3 separate regions of the Homo sapiens genome follow, and regions 1 and 2 are each linked to region 3. Evidence: promoter capture Hi-C in human tissues and cell types (Jung and others, 2019). All regions are on one chromosome and are shown on one strand. Each heading gives the region's core, a stretch centred on a gene start or on the middle of the fragment in contact. The rest is flanking DNA. Distances are from core to core; before and after follow the strand shown.

Region 1 (4,228 bases), core at 620-3,119, 1.3 Mb before region 3:
GGGCAACATAGGGAGACCCTGTGTTTACAAAAAATTCGCTTGGCGTGGTGGCCACGTTTCTGGTTCCAGCTACTTGGGAGGCTGAGGCAGGAGGCTCATTTGAGCCCGGGAGGTTGAAGCTGCAGTAAGCCGTGATCGTGCCACTGGACTCCAGCCTGGGTTACAGAACAAAACCTTGTGTCAAAAAATAAAATAAATAAAATTGGTGACCATACCACCTTACTTTGGTTGTTAAGATACAGAAGAGAAAATGGAATGCCCAGCCCACCACACTGGTCCTGGCTGCAGGAATCCACTGGAAACGCTAGTTCCTTGTGTTCTGGGTTGCTATTTGGTAACCTGCAGGCTCCAGAGGTTGTAATCCTGCTTGCCTTGGGGCCCACCACCCATATGATTAAAAGGAATAACGGGATTACCGAGGCCTTTAAAATTTTGTGGTCAAGGAGATAATATAAAGGAGTTTTGTGTATTAGGAAGAGAACAACGCCCCCACCCTGTCCTTTACCTCGTGAGTTCACGAGTGGTGTATTTGTTTTGTTTTGTTTTTGAGACGATGTCTCGCTCTGTCGCCCAGGCTGGAGTGCAGTGGCGAGATCTCGGCTCACTGCAAGCTCCGCCTCCCGGGTTCACGCCATTCTCCTGCCTCAGCCTCCCGGTAACTGGGACTACAGGCGCCCACCACCACGCCCGGCTAATTTTTTTGTATTTTTAGTAGAGACGGGGTTTCACCATGTTCGCCAGGATGGTCTCGATCTCCTGACCTCGTGATCCGCCCGCCTGGACCTCCCAAAGTGCTGGGAGTACAGGCGGGAGCCACCGCGCCCGGCCTCCGTATTTGTTTAAAAAAAAAAAAAAAAAAAAAAAGGCCGGGCGCGGTGGCTCACGCCTGTAATCCCAGTACTTTGGGAGGCCCAGGCGGGCGGATCACGAGGTCAGGAGATCGAGACCATCCTGGCCAACATGGTGAAACCCCGTCTCTACTAAAAAAACAAAAAAATTAGCCGGGCGTGGTGGCGCATGCCTGTAATCCCAGCTACTCGGGAGGCTGAGACAGGAGAATCGCTTGAACCCGGGAGGCGGAGGTTGCGGTGAGCCGAGATCGCGCCATTGCACTCCAGTCTGGGCGACAAGAGCAAGACTCCATCAAAAAAAAAAAAATAATAAAAAGGAAGAAAAAGAAAGACAAATGATTTACAGGAAAAAATTTAAGTAAACAAAAGTACAAATGCGATGTCAATCGTTCAGGTGGTGCCAGGGGACAGAGAACCGGGGAACACCAAGGTCTCATCGTCCCTGCAGAGCATCTCTGGGGGAGGCGACGGACAGGGCGCGAGCGCGGGGCTTGGAGGGCACCAAGGTCCAGGGGGATGGCGGGTTCAGTCCCAATCCCTCCGACCCGTGCTGAGGGCCTTGGAGGACCCCACTCGCCCAACCTCGGAAGCCCGGGTTCTGCCACTTCCAGCCACGCGTCCTTGGGCTGCGAAACTTTCTCCAGCCCAGTTTCCTCTTTTGGGACATGGGGAGGCGGAGGCTGCCAATGCTGGGATGGAGTCCTCGAGAGCAAGAGACCAGCGGCCTCGACGAGCTTACAATCCGATTAGGCCCTCCCACCGATGTGCTGTAGCTGCCCGCCGCCCTGGACCCGGCGCCGTCCCGCCCGGCTTCGGGAGCCCTCCGTAGCGGCCGGACTCGCGCGCGTTCTAAAATGAGGACAAAGCCCGCCCAGGTCTAGAGCGCGCGCGCCGTGGCGGCCAATGGGACGCTGAAGCTAGGTTGAGTGACGGACTTGAGCAGCCAATGAGTGTGCAGTTTGTTGCGATGTGGCACCCGGCTCCGGCATTATAAAGGGCGCCACGAGTCGGCATTGTCAGGCGGCGGCACCGCGCGGGACGGAGCTTGGCTGTTGGTCGGTGGGTTCCCGTGCGGCGGCGGCCAAGGAGGAGGAGACACAGTTGGAGCAGCTCCGTGGGCTGACTGGGGCGAGGCCTCAGCAGCGCGAGCTTGAGTGCGGCCGAGCCTGCGGCGCCTTCCCCTGCGGGTGGGGACGAGCGGGCCCCGCGGCGTCATCGGCGGCGAGGTGAGCGGCGGCCGGCGGGCGGGAGCTCTGGCGGGAGCCGCGCCGGCCTGACGCGCTGTCGCCGCTGGTTGCAGGAGCCGCCGCGCCTCGGCCTAGCATGTCGGAAGCGGGCGAGGAGCAGCCCATGGAGACGACGGGCGCCACCGAGAACGGACATGAGGCCGTCCCCGAAGGCGAGTCGCCGGCCGGGGCTGGCACGGGCGCCGCGGCGGGGGCTGGAGGCGCGACCGCGGCGCCCCCGAGCGGGAATCAGAACGGCGCCGAGGGCGACCAGATCAACGCCAGCAAGAACGAGGAGGACGCGGGGTAGGTGCGGCCGCGGGCGGACGGGGGCGCCGCCTTTGTTCCGGGGCCGCCTTTTGTTGGCGCCACGCGGCGGGGGGAGGGGCGGCGGCCTGGCCCGGGTCGGGGCTGGTGCGGCCCGCGGACTGTCGCCGCTGCGTTCGCGGGCCGGGCCTGGCGCTGCCACTCGCGCTGGAGTTTGCGGGAGTTTGTTGGGTCGACTTTGGCGCCGCCCCGGGGCCGCTCGCGCGCTGCCAGGGCCAGGGCCAGGGCCGGAGCCGGCGCAGGGGCGGGCGGATGGCCCGGAAGAGGGAAAGCGCTCGGACCCGGGGCCCGGCGGCGTCTTGGGCCGCGCCGGCGGCTGCGTGGGCGGAGTTGGCGCGAGCCGGGGCCCGGACCTCCCTCCTCCGCCTCTCCCGGGGGCGGAGTCACGGTCTGAACCCTGGGCGGGCTTGGTCCCCGGAAACATCGAGTTCCTTGAAACGAGTTCTCAGGAGTTGGTGGAGACGCTGGCCCTTTGCTACATGGTTGTAGAACACATGAATTTCCAGTTATGAGTGGTTAGGTCCCATACCCCTGGTGAGGTGGTCCCTTCTTTGCTTCTCACAGGCTGGGGCTGCAGAGCCTTGTTAAGCCTCGTTAGGGTCCTGGTTGAGTTCAATTTGGAGGGTAGTGGAGATTTAACATCTTTCTAAGGTGCTCCTTGCAGACTCTAAGGGTAGCTGTAGACTTCGTGAGAACTTTGCCAGGGCCAGTCCTTTCCAAAATCACAGCTTGCTTACAAGACTTGTTGCCGTGTGTCTCACCCTACCATTTCAGAAAAATGTTCGTTGGTGGCCTGAGCTGGGATACTAGCAAAAAAGATTTAAAAGACTATTTTACTAAATTTGGAGAGGTCGTTGACTGTACAATAAAAATGGATCCCAACACTGGACGGTCAAGAGGGTTTGGGTTTATCCTGTTCAAAGATGCAGCCAGTGTGGAGAAGGTAAGCTGGGTACTGGATTTCAGCAGTCTCAGTGGAAACGATTTGAATTCTAAGAGGACACCTTTCTTAAAGCATGACTAGTTTGTGTGGTCTGCATGTGATTTAAGTGCTTTGGGCAAAACCCAAAGCCGGAGGTTATGTTCCGGTTTTTGAGGGGATGAAAATACAGATTAAGCTGGGAGTGAGAGAATGTGCTGGAGTGGTTCGGGAAGATGACAGTTGACATTCATTACCTTTTATGTGCCTATTCTGGGTACGGCGCTAAACATCTGGGAGGATTACAAGAGAGTCCATGATTGGTATGATAGGCTTTTAGCCCCATTTTACAGGACAAAAACCAAAACCCTAAGGCTCAGAAATGTAAGTAGAAGAGGTCACAGCTAGTAGGGAGTGGAGGGAGGATTCCTTCCCCTGTGGCCCATCTTCAGCCTATGCTCCGAGTCCCTGCTGCTTCGCTTCTGGAGATGGGCCTCACGCTGGGACTGCTTGGGCAGGAAGAGCATGATCAAAGGCTTAAGTGTGAGGACTGTTTTCTAGGTGTCGAGGTAAACCAGCTGTACTTGAGGTTTGATGAAAATTGGGTTGGGAGGTTAAGCTGGGGTAGAATTTGGAGGGGGTGAAACACATGTTTGTATCTGTACTGGTGTCTTTATGGCTTAGAGAGAAGGGCCTTGTCTGGCTCGTGCTGCTGAGTCAGCCTGACCCCTTTCTGTTGGAACAGGTCCTAGACCAGAAGGAGCACAGGCTGGATGGCCGTGTCATTGACCCTAAAAAGGCCATGGCTATGAAGAAGGACCCGGTGAAGAAAATCTTCGTTGGGGGTCTGAATCCTGAAGCCACTGAGGAAAAGATCAGGGAGTACTTTGGCGAGTTTGGGGAGG
Region 2 (4,209 bases), core at 330-2,829, 1.3 Mb before region 3:
AAGTGCTGGGATTACAGGCGTGAGCCACCGCGCCCGGCCGGGACAAGTGATTTCTATAAACACAGAGTCAAGTTCCATCCCCCAGCCCTCGCCTCTGTCTTGGTTCTACTTGGTGCAGCTCTGGGAGCTTCTTTGGCTTCACTTCCTATCGTTTCCTGTCACCTGCTCACTCACTCCTGCCACACTGACCTTGAGTGTACCTGAACACACAAAGCTTGCTCCAACTTCATGACCTGTGCACTTGCTTTTTCCTCTGCCGGGATCTCCCCCAAGATCTCTGCAGCTTTTTCATCATTTAAATCTCACTTCAATGTTACTTTCCTCAAGAACCTTCTGATTATTTAATCCAAATTATACCTGTCCATTCACCCAGCCAACACTCTCATCACATCCTTGTTTTATTCTCTTGTAAGTACATTAAATGATATCGAAGAAATGTTTAAATAGCTTTCTGAATGTGTAAAACAAACCAGAAAGTCACTAAAGCTTAATGTTAAGAGTTAAGACAATCAAACTACCAAAGAAGAGGAAAAGCAAACATTGTGACATTGTAAATAGGAGATGATGAGAAAGTCTAATGTTTTCTGTGTAAGTCAAAGTTCAGGCAAGATTAAGCCCTGCATGAGTGACAGGTGGTTTCATCTTAGTCAGATGCCACAGTTTAGAGAGGAAAAAGCGCTCATGATAAACAAGATACCTCCGGGAAGATGACATTGAGCTTCTAATTATTCATTCCTCTCTATCCCAGGGCAAACTCCCATTCCCATATGGTTCTCTAAAGACTGTGACTGGGCCTGATCCATCTTTGTGCCACCCCAGTGCCCAGGCCAGGGTATGACACCCACCAGATTTGTTGAACACAGCCAAGCCTCCTATTTCTGAGATGGGCAAATCACTTTATCCACATAAATACTGATTACTACCCCAAAATGCAAGAGTGCCGTGCCTAGGGCTCCTCTGAAGGCTCAACTTTTGATCCACAATGTTCTGAGTTAGGAATTATCCCTATGCTGTTGATTCTATGATGTCTTCCGTCCCTGGACCAGTTGGGATCCAAAAGCTCTTAAACACGGGTGATTTCCTCTTTAAACTCTATGCCTGCAATTCCAACCTTTACCACGAGGTGACAGGATTACACAAACCTTATCAAAACTAGTTTAATCTCTGACTAGTTCTAATTAAAATATGCCCTAAATTAAAACAATATTCATACATATATGTATATATTTTAAAACTTATATTGGCATAGCTTTAAAAGTGTAATACCCACAGTTGGCCAGCATTTGGGGAAATAGACAGCATTTATTCATTGTTGGTGGGAATGTAAATTAGTACAGTCTCCTGGAGGGCAATTTGGCAATACACATCAAAAGCCTTACACATGTGCAAACCCTTTGGTGCAGCAATTCCACTTTTAGTCATTTATTCTAAGGAGATAATCATGGAAATAAGCTATATTTATTCCCAGGATGTTGACTGTAAGGGTGAAAAATTGTCAATATAAATAATTTAACTTTGAGACTAAATAAATGATATATCGGATCAAATACAATGTAGCCATTACATTCTCTAAGGATTTTTAATGATGCAGAAAAGTCTCATGCTATATTTAGTGAAAAAAATAGTACAAAAAAGTATGTCCAATGTAATTGTATTTTAGATTATGAGACTGACGTGCTGCCCACTGCACTAAGAAGGCACTTGTAATTCTATTTTTAAAGCAATAAATATAAAAGCAAACTTGGATATAAGAAATACTAGAACCACCACCAAGATAAGAGGACTTATCTGTGAGTGGCAGAATTAGAGATGCTTTTTCCTTGTGTTTTTCTCCATTGTCCAAATGTTTTACAATAAACATGCTTTTTGTTGTAATCAGAAGAGGCTGTTAATGCATCCTCGGGAGCAGAGAGGACAGGCCAGCCTCTGTACACGGAGGGCATGGACAGGGCGAGCCGGGCCCTTGTCGGCTCTGACTTCCTCAAGTCCACAACCTGCCCCACAGATGTGGGTGGCCCCTATGCCCCGTGTCCTCCAGCCACTCCTATCAGGTCCACACATGGACCTGGTTTCAGCTGAGGCAGCTGGCCTGAGTTAATCCAGAAAAGCACCGACAGTCTCCACCACCAGAGTCTCCTGCCAGACTCTATCCTTGCTCTTAGAAAGTGATAAGATATTGGCACAAAGAGAAAAAAGTAAGTCCTCCCTGAGGCTGGTCCTGAAGTTTACTAAGCTACAAAAAAACACAAAAAACAAACAAACAAAACAAAAAACCAAAAAATGCTTTTTCTAAAACCGACCATTCTCAAAGGTGTTTTTCTTTCCAAATATTGCAAATTTATACTGAGTAGGTTAGAATGATTTCTGAAACCCATCTTTTCTTCTATTGAGACTGTCAACGATGAGGAAAGACAGTGATATTTATAGAAGGGCTGCCACACACAGGACTGGAAATGGCCTCTGTGTCTCACACTCAGTTAACCCCGCTCTGCAGGTGTGATCTCCCCAGGCCCAAGTAGCCTGCCCAAGTCCACACAGGTGACTGACTCAAAGCCACGGTGATCCTCTGCACATGAGGGGCCTCCGAGGTGGCCCAGGCCCTTCAGCACGAGGCAGTCACCCCAGCCTCTGGGATGACCACATGGAGCCATCTGCAAATATACCCCAGGCTGAGAGCCGGGCAGAGCCCTCCTGTCCTCCACAGGCCAAGAGATAGGAATTTCCACTCAGGACTGGGCCCCAGGAGCCTGCGAAAGGTCCTCCCCTTCCTCGAATGGGGAAGCTGAGCGGGGTGTCTGCCCCACCCTGTGGGTCTCACGGAAGGAGTGGCCCAGGTGGTGGTGTGAGAACGAGGGGTCTGGAGGCACACAGCTGGTCTTGCTCCTGGTGCTGGCGACGTGAACGCCCTGAATCCAGCCCACCCAGGGAAGACGCCTACCTCCGTGTGGAAATGGGGGTCTGTGTGTAAGCTGGGGCTGGGCGACCTCAGGAAGAAGGCCATCATGGGCTGTGATACCAGCTTCCTGGAGACGTTGACAGGGTGCCCTCATCCCTCACCAGGCCCAGCCTGCTCAGGCCTCCCAGTGACTGGGGAGCTGCTGGTAGGACCAGGGGCACGGCTGCCAGAGCTGCCTACACAGAGGAAGTGGGGGGGCTTGCTGGACCCCAGCTCTCTTCCTTCCAAGAAAGCTCCCAGTGTCAAGCCTGAGGGACGCCCGCGGGGCTCCACACACATCCTTCTCTCCGTTCCCAGCCCCGACAGTCACAGCGCCCCTTCTCCAGGCCAGGCCCAGGTGTGAGGGAGCCCGATACCACCCCCACACTCAGCTTCGTCTTTAATTCCCGACAGTCCTGTCATGGCCCCAGGGACAGCAGCCCCGGGTTTGGCCTGGCTCGCGTTCTGGGTGCTCTAAGCCAAGGGGCTTTCCTTTCCCCAGGCTTCACAGCGAGTGAGCTGCAGAGATGAGAGCCACGCCCAGCTACTCCATCCGCACCCAGCCTCCTGCCTGTCGGCCACAGGGCCAGCTGCCGGCACCCAACTGGGTCCTGGGAGGAAGGAGTGAGGGAGAAGAGGCCTCTGTGGGACGCAGACCCTGGCACCTGCTCTGGTGTGGCTGAGAACAAGCCCCCTGCCCCTCCCCCGGGGCAGCAGGCAGCATCCTCTCCGATGCTCGAGGCTGGTGGGGAACGGACCGGACCGCTGGGTCACTTTGCTCAGAGGAAACAATGGAGAAGAGGGGGAGGAAACCACTCATCTACACCCCACCCTCTCCCCTCTGGACCTGTGAATACAGAGTAACCCGGGGTGAAGGGAACTGCGTCATGCCAGGAGTGGTTCTGTTAGTCTCCGGTCCTCCCGAGCCGGTACTGGTACAGCGAATAATGCCAAGATGCGGGGCTGAACTTTCCAGCGAAAGCCTGTGCTTCCCCAAGATGCTGGACGCCCAAAGGTCCGGGCTGCCGTGTGCAGGAGACGGGAGCCTGACCCTTGCCTAATCAGAAGAGCAGCTGGGGACTGCGGCAGGGCCCTAACCCCAGGTGTGCCATGGGATGAGGGTGGGTCCCAGCTGGTTTTCACATTTCATTCTTACTTCCGCAGAGTCTGAGAGGCCAGGCTGCTCATTGCTGGGGGAGCTGCCCGGACTGCCTGGGAGATCCCAAACTTGACTCAGCCCAGCACGGGGCCACTCCAGCATGAAGTCAATGTTC
Region 3 (4,042 bases), core at 521-3,020:
GCCACTGCACTCCAGCTTGGTGACAGAGCAGGACTTGGCCTCAAAAACAAACAAACAAACAAGACCAGGCCGGGCGTGGTGGCTCACGCCTCTAATCCCAGCACTTTGGGAGGCCGAGGCTGGCGGATCACGAGGTCAGGAGATCAAGACCATCCTGGCTAACACGGTGAAACCCCGTTTCTACTAAAAATACAAAAAAAAAAAAAAATTAGCCGGGCGTGGTGGCGGGCACCTGTAGTCCCAGCTACTCGGGAGGCTGAGGCAGGAGAATGGCGTGAACCCGGGAGGTGGAGCTTGCAGTGAACCGAGATCGCGCCACTGCACTCCAGCCTGGGCGACTGAGCGAGACTCCGTACGAAAACAAACAAACAAAAAAGACTGGTAGTATGCCCTCAGTCATTACACAACTCAAACACCAACTCCACAAATTCCCAAAACACTCCTAGATGAAGTGGTATCCCTTCACTGAGAACTGGCCTTTCAGGGACCAGACATATCATGCAACCTAGTGAAGTGGGCTGGACCAAGACAGGTCCAGGGAGCAGCTGGGCGTCTAAAGGGGCAGCACAGTTTATTCCCAACAGTTTGTTGCCATCTGGGAATATGCCATGAGTTACCAAATATTCCAGTGATTCCAGAGAAAGCTAAAATCCAGATTCTTATGTGAAATCTTTTGATTTCTAAATATTGGCAACAAGTTTTAAGATTTGTAAACATTCTGGGAATCAAAACAGCTCTGCTGGTTTGGTGTGGCTCATGTTGCCTCACTTTGCAAAGTGTTAAGTGCTAGTAAATTTTAGTGTTTTTTCTGAGACAGGGTCTCACTTTGTCGCCCAGCCTGGAGTGCAGTGGCCATGATCTCCGCTCACTGTGGGATCGACCTCCCGGGCTCAAGCGATCCTCCCACTCTCAGCCCCCCAAGGAGCTAGGAGTAGAGCTGTCCCGCCACGACATCTGGCTGGTTTTTTGTTGTTGTTGTTGTTGTTGTTTTGGTATTTTAGTAGAGACGGGGTTTCGTCCTACTAAAGGCCCGCCTGGGCCTTCCGAAGTGCTGGGATTACAGGCGTGAGCCACCGCGCCCGGCCAAAATTTTCCTTTGTACTTACTCAAATTCCTTTCTTTTCCAAGTGAAGAAACAGACTGAGTGTATAGTGACTTACCCAGGCCACACAGTTGGATACCAGAGATAGTAGTCACAATCGCTAACATCTGCCATGTGGTCCTTACTGCAAATCTTATTTAATAATGAGGTCGGTTTTTGTTATCCCACTTAACTAATCAATAGGAGAAGCCACCTCTGATTTCCAGTCCACTATCGTGCACTCTTTCTTGCCAAGCCGTCATAGTCATTAGATTAAAAAAAAAAAAAAATTCCTGCTTTCCTGCCTCGCCTGTGCGTTTCCTTAGTCGCCCTTTCGGGGCTTGTTCTAATGAGTGCTACAGAAAAATGACGAAGTGGAAAATATAGACCATGAAATGAAAATTTAAAAGAGGAAATGGTGTCACAAAGACAACGACGGCCAGGGAACCCCGTGAAGCGCCGGGCAGGGTGCACAACTGTCCTCGGAGAAAGTTCAAGAGGAACTTCCCCGCGAACAGGTCCTGCCGGCGGCCGGGAATACGCACACTTTTTATGTTATGACTTGGACTTTCCCGAACCTTTCGAAACAGAGGGAAGGCGAGGCGGTGAAGAGGGAGAAAAATCTCCCCCACCTAAGGCAAAGGCGATGCCCGCCCGCCCCCACCCCGCGCCCGCCCGCCCGCTGGGTCACATGACACGGCCAAGATGGCCGACCGGGAAGGCGGCTGCGCTGCTGGGCGGGGGCGGGAGCTGGAGCCGGAGCTGGAGCCGGGGCCGGGGCCCGGGTCAGCGCTTGAGCCGGGAGAAGAGTTTGAGATCGTGGACCGAAGCCAGCTGCCCGGCCCAGGCGACCTGCGGAGCGCAACGAGGCCGCGGGCGGCCGAGGGCTGGTCGGCGCCCATCCTGACCCTGGCACGCAGGGCCACCGGGAACCTGTCGGCGAGCTGCGGGAGCGCGCTGCGCGCGGCCGCGGGGCTGGGCGGCGGGGACAGCGGGGACGGCACGGCGCGCGCAGGTAGGCTCGGGCCGGGTCTGTCCCGCGGCGGACTCGCGTGTCCCCGCTGGCCGCCGGCGCGGGCGCGGTGGGGGCCGGGCTGGGAGGGCACTGGCCGTTCCGGGAGGTTACGCGAGCTGTTGGCGGGCGGGCGGCGCCTGGCTGCGCCTGGGTCTTTACTCCGGCGGCCCAGCCGAGACCGCCCCCCGCAGCCCCGCGTGCCTGAGCGCGCTCCCGCACCCGCGCCTCTATGCTCTCCCACTAACTAGGTGAAGGACGTGTGCGCGTCCGGGCTTCGGAACTCTGTAGTAACTCCACACACGAAACGGAGCCAGCACTGTTCTGCTTTTCAGCCGTTCAGTGCGGGAGTGGAGCGCCGGCGGGTGTTGGGAGGGCGTGGGCCCTGCGCGCAGCGGACCAGCGGCGCCTCCGCTCACCTCTGCCTGTGAGATGGGGATTTTAAAGTCACCCGATGATCTCTTAAAGACCTTTTCAGCCCTTGTAATGAACAGAGTGCCAGCATATCAGTGATAGTAAGAGTTAAGTAACTTAGCCCTCTAACGCCAGACATCCAGAGCTGTGCTATCCAATACAACAGCACGCATATGTTTTTGTGTGTGTGTTTTTGTTTTTATTTATTTTTATTTTTTTGAGACCGGGTCTTGCTCTGTCGCCCAGGCTGGAGTGCAGTGGTGCGATCTCGGCTCACTGCACCCTCTGCCTCCCGGGTTCAAGCGATCCTCCCTCCCGCCTCAGCCTCCCGAGTAGCTGGGATTACAGGTGCCCACCACCACGCTCGGCTAAGTTCCCCGCCCCCACCCCCCTCCCATATTTTTAGTAGAAACGGGGTTTCACCATCTTGGCCAGGCTGGTCTTGAACTCCTGACCTTGTGATACACCTGCCTCGGCCTCGTAAAGTACTGGGACTACAGGCTTGAGCCACCGCGCCCGGCCGGATTCCTCAATTTCTAACTGAATCAATTGAAATTCAGTACTTTTAAATTGAATTAAAAATTGAGTTCCTCGGCCGGGAGCGGTGGCTCACGCCTGTAATCCCAGCACTTTGGGAGGCCGAAGCGGGTGGATCACGAGGTCAAGAGATCGAGACCATCCTGGCCAACATGGTGAAACCCCGTCTCTACTAAAAATACAAAAAATTAGCTGGGTGTGTTGGCATGCACCTGTAGTCCCAGCTACTCAGGAGGCTGAGGCAGGAGAATCGCTTGAACCTGGGAGGCAGAGGTTGCAGTGAGCCGAGATCGCGCCACTGCACTCCAGCCTGGGTGACAGAGCGAGACTCTGTCTCAAAAAAAAAAAAAAAAAAAAAAACTTGTTCCTCGATTACAGCGGCCACATTTTAAATGCTCAGTAGCCTGTGTGTGGCCAGTGGCTACTGTATGAGATAGCACATAATAGAACATTGCCAACTTCATAGAAAATGCTGGGACAGAGCTGAGGAAAGGTTGTGGTGCCTTCCAAGGAGCATCATAGCACACACTCGAGGCTTCCTGATTCCTCCCCATCCACTGGTACCTTTGCTGTAGATGCACTGACCCCAGGTAGTGAATTGTGAGATTTTCAGTGGTCAAGAATAATTACTGAGTAAAGTTGAAAGGCTGACTCGTTTTGAGATCCTGGCAGTGGAAAATAGCATTAGAGGATGATGAGAGCCTGGGCAGGCCGGGAATCTACTGCCCTCTAGCTTGACACCTTTTCCCGAGACTTTTCCACACATCAGTGGATGCTGAGTTGCATACTCATTGACAGTCAGTACTGAAAGTCAAGGCATGGCGTCTCCTGGAGGCCTCTTAGATATTTCGTGGCAGGAGTAAGCAAATAATAAAAGTTCTTCCCTGCTAGAATTTCTTTCCTTTAATGCAGAATCAAGGAAAAAATTAAAAAGATAAAATGAAATGTGTCAGTACCTGGCACAGAATAATAAGTGTTTGCTGAACAAATGCATATTT

The links. Contacts are between HindIII fragments. The study calls those that stand out against the background at their distance.
Region 1: a contact is called between the fragment with the promoter of HNRNPAB here and the fragment with the promoter of RUFY1 in region 3, in 1 of the 25 tissues and cell types used here (dorsolateral prefrontal cortex).
Region 2: a fragment that was not itself captured here is called in contact with the fragment with the promoter of RUFY1 in region 3 in 1 of the 25 tissues and cell types used here (lymphoblastoid cells).

The regions. Positions count from the first base shown.
Region 1 is chr5:178,202,664-178,206,891 of GRCh38, forward strand. It overlaps HNRNPAB (heterogeneous nuclear ribonucleoprotein A/B), which reads left to right and starts at 1,870. Exons shown (of 8, transcript NM_031266.3): 1 at 1,870-2,077; 2 at 2,152-2,383; 3 at 3,179-3,347; 4 at 4,069-4,227. The coding sequence starts at 2,175. RefSeq lists silencers at 1,684-1,753, 2,054-2,273, 2,294-2,403, 2,434-2,843. The HindIII fragment of the contact is 21,768 bases long and covers 1-4,228 here.
Region 2 is chr5:178,283,147-178,287,355 of GRCh38, forward strand. All of the region lies in intron 5 of COL23A1 (collagen type XXIII alpha 1 chain), which reads right to left. Among named protein-coding and RNA genes, the nearest start is that of PHYKPL, 52 kb to the left of the region's middle. RefSeq lists enhancers at 2,946-3,491, 3,492-4,035, 4,036-4,209. The HindIII fragment of the contact is 7,014 bases long and covers 1-4,209 here.
Region 3 is chr5:179,548,784-179,552,825 of GRCh38, forward strand. RUFY1 (RUN and FYVE domain containing 1) reads left to right here and starts at 1,771. Exons shown (of 18, transcript NM_025158.5): 1 at 1,771-2,096. The coding sequence starts at 1,787. All of the region lies in intron 4 of LOC128966623 (a long non-coding RNA gene), which reads left to right. LOC105377762 (a long non-coding RNA gene) reads right to left here and starts at 1,721. Exons shown (of 4, transcript XR_941315.4): 1 at 1,161-1,721. RefSeq lists a silencer at 1,696-2,405. The HindIII fragment of the contact is 12,755 bases long and covers 1-4,042 here.